3 separate regions of the Homo sapiens genome follow, and all the other regions are linked to region 2. Evidence: promoter capture Hi-C in human tissues and cell types (Jung and others, 2019). All regions are on one chromosome and are shown on one strand. Each heading gives the region's core, a stretch centred on a gene start or on the middle of the fragment in contact. The rest is flanking DNA. Distances are from core to core; before and after follow the strand shown.

The links. The method cuts DNA at HindIII sites, captures the fragments that hold promoters and counts their contacts. A contact is called where the count stands out against the background at its distance.
Region 1: a fragment that was not itself captured here is called in contact with the fragment with the promoter of HSPA5 in region 2 in 1 of the 25 tissues and cell types used here (dorsolateral prefrontal cortex).
Region 3: a contact is called between a fragment that was not itself captured here and the fragment with the promoter of HSPA5 in region 2, in 1 of the 25 tissues and cell types used here (lymphoblastoid cells).

What each region holds. Positions count from the first base shown.
Region 1 is chr9:126,732,272-126,734,971 of GRCh38, reverse strand. No RefSeq gene overlaps it. Among named protein-coding and RNA genes, the nearest start is that of ZBTB43, 71 kb to the left of the region's middle. The HindIII fragment of the contact is 3,995 bases long and covers 1-2,700 here.
Region 2 is chr9:125,239,850-125,242,654 of GRCh38, reverse strand. HSPA5 (heat shock protein family A (Hsp70) member 5) reads left to right here and starts at 1,312. Exons shown (of 8, transcript NM_005347.5): 1 at 1,312-1,650; 2 at 1,748-1,979; 3 at 2,346-2,483. The coding sequence starts at 1,529. HSPA5-DT (HSPA5 divergent transcript) reads right to left here and starts at 999. Exons shown (of 3, transcript NR_186826.1): 1 at 592-999. RefSeq lists enhancers at 714-1,023, 673-1,177, 991-1,285, 1,178-1,682, 1,824-1,903. The HindIII fragment of the contact is 17,872 bases long and covers 1-2,805 here.
Region 3 is chr9:126,384,878-126,387,577 of GRCh38, reverse strand. It overlaps MVB12B (multivesicular body subunit 12B), which reads right to left. Exons shown (of 10, transcript NM_033446.3): 4 at 920-1,016. Among named protein-coding and RNA genes, the nearest start is that of NRON, 24 kb to the left of the region's middle. The HindIII fragment of the contact is 7,787 bases long and covers 1-2,700 here.

The DNA.
Region 1 (2,700 bases), core at 44-2,543, 1.5 Mb before region 2:
TCTTCCACTTGTTCAAATCTGCATTAAGTCCCTCTAGTAAATTTTTTACTTCTGCTATTTTACTTTTTGACTATTCTATTTGGTTCTTTCCTATAATTTCTTTCTTTTTTTGAGAAGGAGTCTTGTTCTGTCACCCAGGCTGGAGTGCAGTGGCACGATCTTGGCTCACTGCAACCTCTGCCTCCTGGGTTCAAGTGATTCTCCTGTGTCAGCATACCGAGTAGCTGGGATTGCAGGTGTGTGCCACCATGCCCAGCTAATCTTTGTATTTTTAGCAGAGACAGGATTTCACCATGTTGGCAAGGCTGGTCTCAACCTCCTGACCTCAAGTGATACTCCTGCCTTGGCCTCCCAAAGTGCTGGGATTACAGGCATGAGTCATACTGCACAGCCCTTTCTTATAATTTCTATCTCTTTATTGATATTGATATTCTCTACTTAATAAGACATTATTTTCATACTTCACTTTAGTTTTTAGACTTGGTTTCTTTTAGTTCTTTGAACACACTTAAGATAGCTGATTTAAGTTGCTTTCCTCATAAATTCAATGTCTGGGTTTCCACAGGTACAGTTTCAATTTATTGCTTTTTTGCTGTTTGTGGGCCATATTTTCTTGCTTTTTTTTTTTTTTGGCATGTCTCAATTTTGTGTTGAAAATTGGCCATTTCAAATAATTGAATGTGGCAACTCTGGAAATCCAATTCCTCCTCTCCTTTCTGCCCCCCAAGGTTTGTATTTGTGGTAGCTTTTTGTTGCTTGTTTAGTGACTTTTCTGAACAAATTCTGCAAGGTCTATATTCTTTGTCATGTGTGGCTACTGTGACATATTCCTTGTCATGTGTTGGCTACTGAAATCTCTGATTTGTTACCTTAGTGGGCCAGGTAACAGCTGGACAGACATTTTCTTTTCTTTTCTTTTCTTTTCTTTTCTTTTTGAGATGGAATCTCGCTCTGTCGCCAGACTGGAGTGCAGTGCACGATCTTGGTTCACTGTAACCTCTGCCTCCCGGGTTCAAGTGAACCTCCTGCCTCAGCCTCCCAAGTACCTGGGACTACAGGCACGCGCCAGCATGCCCAGGTAACTTTTGTATTTTTAGTAGAGATGGGGTTTCGCCATGTTGGCCAGGATGGTCTCGATCTCCTGATTGCGTGATCCACCTGCCTCGGCCTCCCAAATTGCTGGGATTACAGACGTAAGCACCGTGCCCAGTCGACATTTTCTTAAATGCCTAGAACCAATAAGTCCCTAAGTCTCTTTGAGGGGCTATATTTGTGTATATGTGTGTTTTGGGGCATGCCTTCAACATCCAGTCAGGCAGCGTACAACTCCGCTTTTGCCTTCACTTCCTGCTGACGCAGAGCTTCAAGGTTAGCCAGAGGTGAGAGTTTAAGGCCTTCCCACATCTTTCCAGAGCATGTGCACAGCCCTACAGATGTGTCTGGCTTTCTTGATTCCCTGGGATACGTCGGAGCTTTTAAAAGGCCCCCTATTGTCATCTCACGCCCCAGATTTTCCTTTTAAGCTTTTTGCTCAGCTTCTTGCTTGCCCCAACAGCTACGGCAGCCTCTGGCACCCAATGTTCAACAATTGCCTCTAATGTTTTGGGCATATGGGCCTGAAGAAAAGTTGTTTTCACTGGGTGAGCTCTGAATCAGGTGGAATAAAGACAGCTTTCTAAGTGGGATCTTCCGTGGAACCACCAGACAAGTCAAATACTGACAATTCTCTGGGAATGGGACTTTGAACTGCTCCAACCCCTTCGGTCCCTTCCACTGGTTACCAGACTGTTGATTTTTACTGTAATTGCAGTGAAAAGGCTACTGGAGAGCTGGGGACGGGGGATGTGGAAATAGGAAAAGTTAAAATGCCACAGAGCTTGCTGTTTTTACTGAGATATAGCTGTTGGCTTTTTTTTTTTTTTTTTTTTTTTTTTTTTTTAGTACTCCCAGATTGCTGCAAGCCTTTGATTAATTTCCGGAGTTCTGTAAGAGTTGTTTCTGACAATTGTTGCCAGTGTTTTCATTGCTTTTATGAAGGAAGGAACTTTCAGAAGACCTTACTCTGCCATTTTTGCTGATGTCACCCCCTTTTTTTCTTAGGGGACCATAAAATAATAGCGTTTCTTACAATTGCTGAAATCTCAGGTTTGATAAAATACGGTAAGCCTTAGCTCTAAAACATAACTAACTAATGGGAGAGTAAAGAATAAGGTGAAACTACCCCGTCTCTACTAAAAATACAAAAAATACAAATACAGGTGGCGGGCGCCTGTAGTCCCAGCTACTCGGGAGGCTGAGGCCGGAGAATGGCGTGAACCTGGGAGGCGGAGCTTGCAGTGAGCCGAGATCGCGCCACTGCACTCCAGCCTGGGCGGCAGAGCAGGAGACCGTCTTAAAAAAAAAACAAAAAAACGTAAGGTGAAACTAAAAGCTAGGCAATAAAGATATGGATGATGGGGCTGACACATGAATTAAATATCAGTTCTCATATTATTAAGGAGATACTGATTATTATCTCTTGGCTTCGTTCTATCAATTATGTTAAAATTTAAGGATAACTATTCAAATAATATAAATAGAATATATAATTTATGAACCAATAGGGGAAAAGGGGAAATGATTAATTCAATGGACGACAGAAAAAAAGAAATAAGGGACAAAGAAAAGTATAGTGAAGAGACCCATGCAGACATAAATAAG
Region 2 (2,805 bases), core at 63-2,562:
CCTGGGCGTGACAGAGTGATACTCCGTCTTGAAAAAAAAAAAAGTATTGGCAATAGAGTGAACTCCACCTGGTTATCAATCCTAACTCCATCACTCACCAGCTCTGTGACTTGTTTAGTTATTTAATCTTTTTCAGTTTCAATGTCCTCATCTGGAAAACGGGAAATGCCTACCGAGTATTGAACTGTCAAGACTAAATGACACATGAAAAGCACACTGAACAATGCTTAATCCACGGTAGGCTTTCAGCAAATAGTGGTCTCTATTATTTTTTGCAACAGGATGTTATATAAGAATAAGGCATTATCAAGACGATTTTCGCCTATCAAATGTGTTGTCTGCGTGTACATCAGACCTTTTCCTGGAATGAAGGTAGAAAAGTATCAACAATAAAGGATGGAGAAAGCCCCGTAAATGATAACCTTTGCCCCAGAGGGAAAGGATGGGCAGCGGAGGGGAAAGTAAAGGGTGGCAAGCTAGAAAAATTAGACATCCAGTGTGGGAGGGCTGGCACTGGAGTGGGTTGCCACAGTAGGGAGGGGACTCAGAGCTGGAGGCAATTCCTTTGGCCGGGCTTGTCCTGCGACTTACCGTGGGGCAGCGCAATGTGGAGAGGCCTGGTAAAATGGCTGGGCAAGGGTGCGGAGGGGACATAACTGGCAGGAAGGAGTCATGATTCGTGGTCGAACAGAGTCCAGACCAGCTCGACCTGTGAGCAACGAACGGCCCTGAGACTCGCATACCCCAATACCGGTAGTGGCCGTGAAGGGCAAAGAAATGTGTTCTGAGGCGATCCCAGCATCTAAGCTGCGACTGGTCTACTCAGAGACTGGATGGAAGCTGGGAAGAGAAAGCTGCTTCCCGCTTCGGGGTGAGGGATGGAGGAAGGGAGAACAAGCAGTAGAGAAGAAAAAGTTTCAGATCCCACAGCCCCGGGGGGTCACTCCTGCTGGACCTACTCCGACCCCCTAGGGCCGGGAGTGAAGGCGGGACTTGTGCGGTTACCAGCGGAAATGCCTCGGGGTCAGAAGTCGCAGGAGAGATAGACAGCTGCTGAACCAATGGGACCAGCGGATGGGGCGGATGTTATCTACCATTGGTGAACGTTAGAAACGAATAGCAGCCAATGAATCAGCTGGGGGGGGCGGAGCAGTGACGTTTATTGCGGAGGGGGCCGCTTCGAATCGGCGGCGGCCAGCTTGGTGGCCTGGGCCAATGAACGGCCTCCAACGAGCAGGGCCTTCACCAATCGGCGGCCTCCACGACGGGGCTGGGGGAGGGTATATAAGCCGAGTAGGCGACGGTGAGGTCGACGCCGGCCAAGACAGCACAGACAGATTGACCTATTGGGGTGTTTCGCGAGTGTGAGAGGGAAGCGCCGCGGCCTGTATTTCTAGACCTGCCCTTCGCCTGGTTCGTGGCGCCTTGTGACCCCGGGCCCCTGCCGCCTGCAAGTCGGAAATTGCGCTGTGCTCCTGTGCTACGGCCTGTGGCTGGACTGCCTGCTGCTGCCCAACTGGCTGGCAAGATGAAGCTCTCCCTGGTGGCCGCGATGCTGCTGCTGCTCAGCGCGGCGCGGGCCGAGGAGGAGGACAAGAAGGAGGACGTGGGCACGGTGGTCGGCATCGACCTGGGGACCACCTACTCCTGGTAAGTGGGGTTGCGGATGCAGGGGGACGGGGCGTGGCCGCCTGGCCTGGCGTGAGAAGTGCGGTGCTGATGTCCCTCTGTCGGGTTTTTCTGCCAGCGTCGGCGTGTTCAAGAACGGCCGCGTGGAGATCATCGCCAACGATCAGGGCAACCGCATCACGCCGTCCTATGTCGCCTTCACTCCTGAAGGGGAACGTCTGATTGGCGATGCCGCCAAGAACCAGCTCACCTCCAACCCCGAGAACACGGTCTTTGACGCCAAGCGGCTCATCGGCCGCACGTGGAATGACCCGTCTGTGCAGCAGGACATCAAGTTCTTGCCGTTCAAGGTTCGACCGGGTTTTTCTCATCCAGTTAGAGAACGGGTGGGTGGTGGGAGTATTTAGAGTTATAAGTCTCTGGAAAAGTGTTGAGACAACAGTTGAAGGTTATAGACATGATGTATGTAATAACTTTAATACTATTAGTATGTTACAAAACTTAAGACAGTTGCTGTCGTACTGTCTACGATAGTTTAGGAATAAAAGACCGATTAAAACTGAACTTTGTAAGACACCTATACTCCCTGAAGTATTTCTAGTCAATTTGCAGCCCCAAGGGACCAAAATAAACCAAATTGTGGGGATGGTAGTGGGTCTTTTAAACTTTGAGATGTCATTGTATCTGTGTCTGAAAACAATAATTCTTTAAAATAGGTGGTTGAAAAGAAAACTAAACCATACATTCAAGTTGATATTGGAGGTGGGCAAACAAAGACATTTGCTCCTGAAGAAATTTCTGCCATGGTTCTCACTAAAATGAAAGAAACCGCTGAGGCTTATTTGGGAAAGAAGGTAAATATTTCTAGAACAATGTTAAGTATTTTTTGATCATTAGTATTCTCGGTTGGCTGTTATGTATAGAAGCCTTCGTGAAGGGTTTCAAAAATTTTAATCAGAATGGTATTCATGCTTGTCAGGTTTAATTATTGAGTCCCTTACTATAAGCCAAACAAAATAGACTTTTCATGTATTATTTAATGCTTACAATTCCAGGGACATAAAATTTTATATGTTGTATTCATCAATAAGTTGGCTTAAAAACTAAAGTGATGGTTTGACTGTAATTTTTTTTTTTTGAGATGGAGTCTTGCTCTGTTGCCCAGGCTGGACTGCA
Region 3 (2,700 bases), core at 94-2,593, 1.1 Mb before region 2:
CATGAAAATAACAGCAGGGGATCTGCGTAAAGATAGAAACTCTAGTTCATATCATATGAAGTGCTAGCAAGAAAACAGCAAAAAACAGTGGGACCAAAGTGGGGCTAATTATGAAAGAATAAAGTATGAGACAGAAAATGAGACAGAGAATTTAATAAATAAACCCTGAGTCGTAATGAAAGGATTCTCTGTATTTGTTTTGTATTCATTGCTTCACTGTTGTAAATACCATAAAGTTGGCTGACCAGTGATTAAAAATGAAACAAGGTAAGTTAAATTACACCAAAACAAGGAAGCCGAATCACCAGAGGTTTTCCAGCACCATTTAATAACCCATGTGTGGGTCAAGAAGCTCCAAGGGCTCCAACACCCTGAAGACGCTGCCGATTCCTCAGTGATTCACTTCTGCTTGGACCTGCTCAGTGGTCAGAATATTCAGTCCAATTCGAACCTATGAACTTTAATTTGCAGTCTTTTTGATTCTCACTTTTCTTGTTTGCTCAACGGGCCCCAAATGGGCACATTATTGGCCTTGTGTTCTCTGGGCGTCTTTTGATTGTTTTCTTTCCGCTTCCTTCTGGGTCTTATGCCAAGCTTGGCTTCAGCAACACCAGAGGAAGGACTAAAGACAAACTGTATAGTTTCACCATTCCATTCCCCAGTGAGCCGATTCAGCAGGGAGCACCATTCTAAAAGAAAGGCACGTTCTGCTCATTTACATGCTGCTACCCAGAATACTCTGCAAACTCCTTGGAGAACCCAGCCAGACACACATCAAAAGCAGCAGGGTTTGTTCATGGGCATGTAGTAAGGCCTCCAAAAGTGTTTCTGAAGAAAAATGCACATAGAAAAACACCTACAAATATACCTGGAGGAAGAAAACGCTCATTGTGATGAGTGCTACTAAAGGATGACTCACGTGTGTCCACCGTCTCCTGAATTGGGATGAAGCCCACAGGCAGTGTGTCCTTGATGTCAATGAGCTTCATATCTACTAACACGTTCCCCAGATGACTCTTGGGAAGAAAGAAAAGAGATACAGACTATTAATCTGAACATGCATGTGGTGGGTTTGCCATTTTGGCTTCCAGATGCATATTTAACACAATGACTCGTGCAGCTTTATGACAGCAGGTTAATTAGAGTAGGTGACACTTAATGGTCCCCAGTGGTTATGCAGGGACTCGTGTGGCCCCTGGGAAGGAGTTTCATCTGCGGAACCTCAAAGCCACTCAACTCAGACACGGCCTTGGTGAGGCAGGAGCAACCCAGGAGATGCTTTAGACATAACCCAGCAGAGGGCAGCTGTGCACACAGGTCCCAGGACCAGGCTGCCATTCAGCCCTGAGCATCAGATCTCAAGGCCAGGAGGTTTTAGGAAGAGCAAATTCCTGAGGCACTCGTAGGAAAGAGCTGCATCTAAACCTAACAGGGAACCAATCACTCTCCTAAGTGATCACCAGTCTGCATACTGACACACATTTCAGTTGCTAGATACATTCTGCAAAATCCCAAGAATCATACACTAATACAGAGTGAAAGCCCTGCTGCCTCAATATTACACATCTTCTAAAATGACACGCACAAGGGCCTCCTAAAGTTTCTGTTTAGTGGTAGTATATGGGGTCCACAGTGCGCAGTTTCGGTAACTGGTGTACAAATATCTTTCTAAGACAGTACACCATTCTGTAATTGCGAGAGAGAATTCTTTGCAAACACGCCAGCACTTGCAGCCCACATTTCAAGCTGGAAATGAGCTCTAAAGATATCTACCCTACAACTTAAATATGTGGGGCCACTTTGGAGATTTCATTAAAATCTTCAGAGTAATTTGCAGCTTGGTTCCCCCTCTCTCGTCAGAGCCAGTTAAGGAAAGAATGATGGGCTCAAATCCCAAATCTCTCCTGTTAGGATACTAGCAGTGCACTCCACGTGCCCATTTTGCAGAAGTGCCTCATCCCCGAAGCCCAGTGTGAACATGCTCTCTGTTTACTTGTTCAGCATCCTTGGACAAGCATCTAGTTGGTCAGCCATCACTCTGCCCTGGACAGCAACTTCTCAGGCTGTTGTTCCATCTTGCTTAGAGAAGAAGGGCTGCTACCTCCATCTCTGCACATGGGAGCCAAGATCCCACCTCCACCTGCACTGTGTCACGTCTCTGAAAGCCAAGCAGGGAGTTCTTATCATCTAAACTGTGTTATGTTCCCTCTTGGCACTCTCTTTTTCCCTTCCTATCAATTTATGGGGTTATTTGTTTAATATCTGTCTTGCTTCTAGAGTTTAAGAACCATGAAGACCAAAACTATCTCTGTTCCTACTATAAATACAAGCCTAGCATGGTTTTTGCCACACAGCAGGTGCTCAGTAACTACTTGCTGAATAAATTAATTTCGGGTGCACATTTTTCAACCGGGCCACTCAGAGTCACAAATCGAACTGGAGGCCGGGCGCTGTTGCTCATGCCTGTAATCCCAACACTTTGGGAGGCCAAAGTGCGTGGGTAGCTTGAGTTCAGGAGTTTGAGACCAGCCTGGGAAACATGGCGAAACCCCATCTCTACAAATTAAAAAAATTGGCTGGGTGTGGTGGCACTCATGCATGTAGTCCCAGCTACTCAGGAAGCTGAAGTAGGAGGATTGTTGGAGCCTGGGAGGTTGAGGCTGCAGTAAGCCAAGATCATGCCTCTGTACTTCAGCCTGG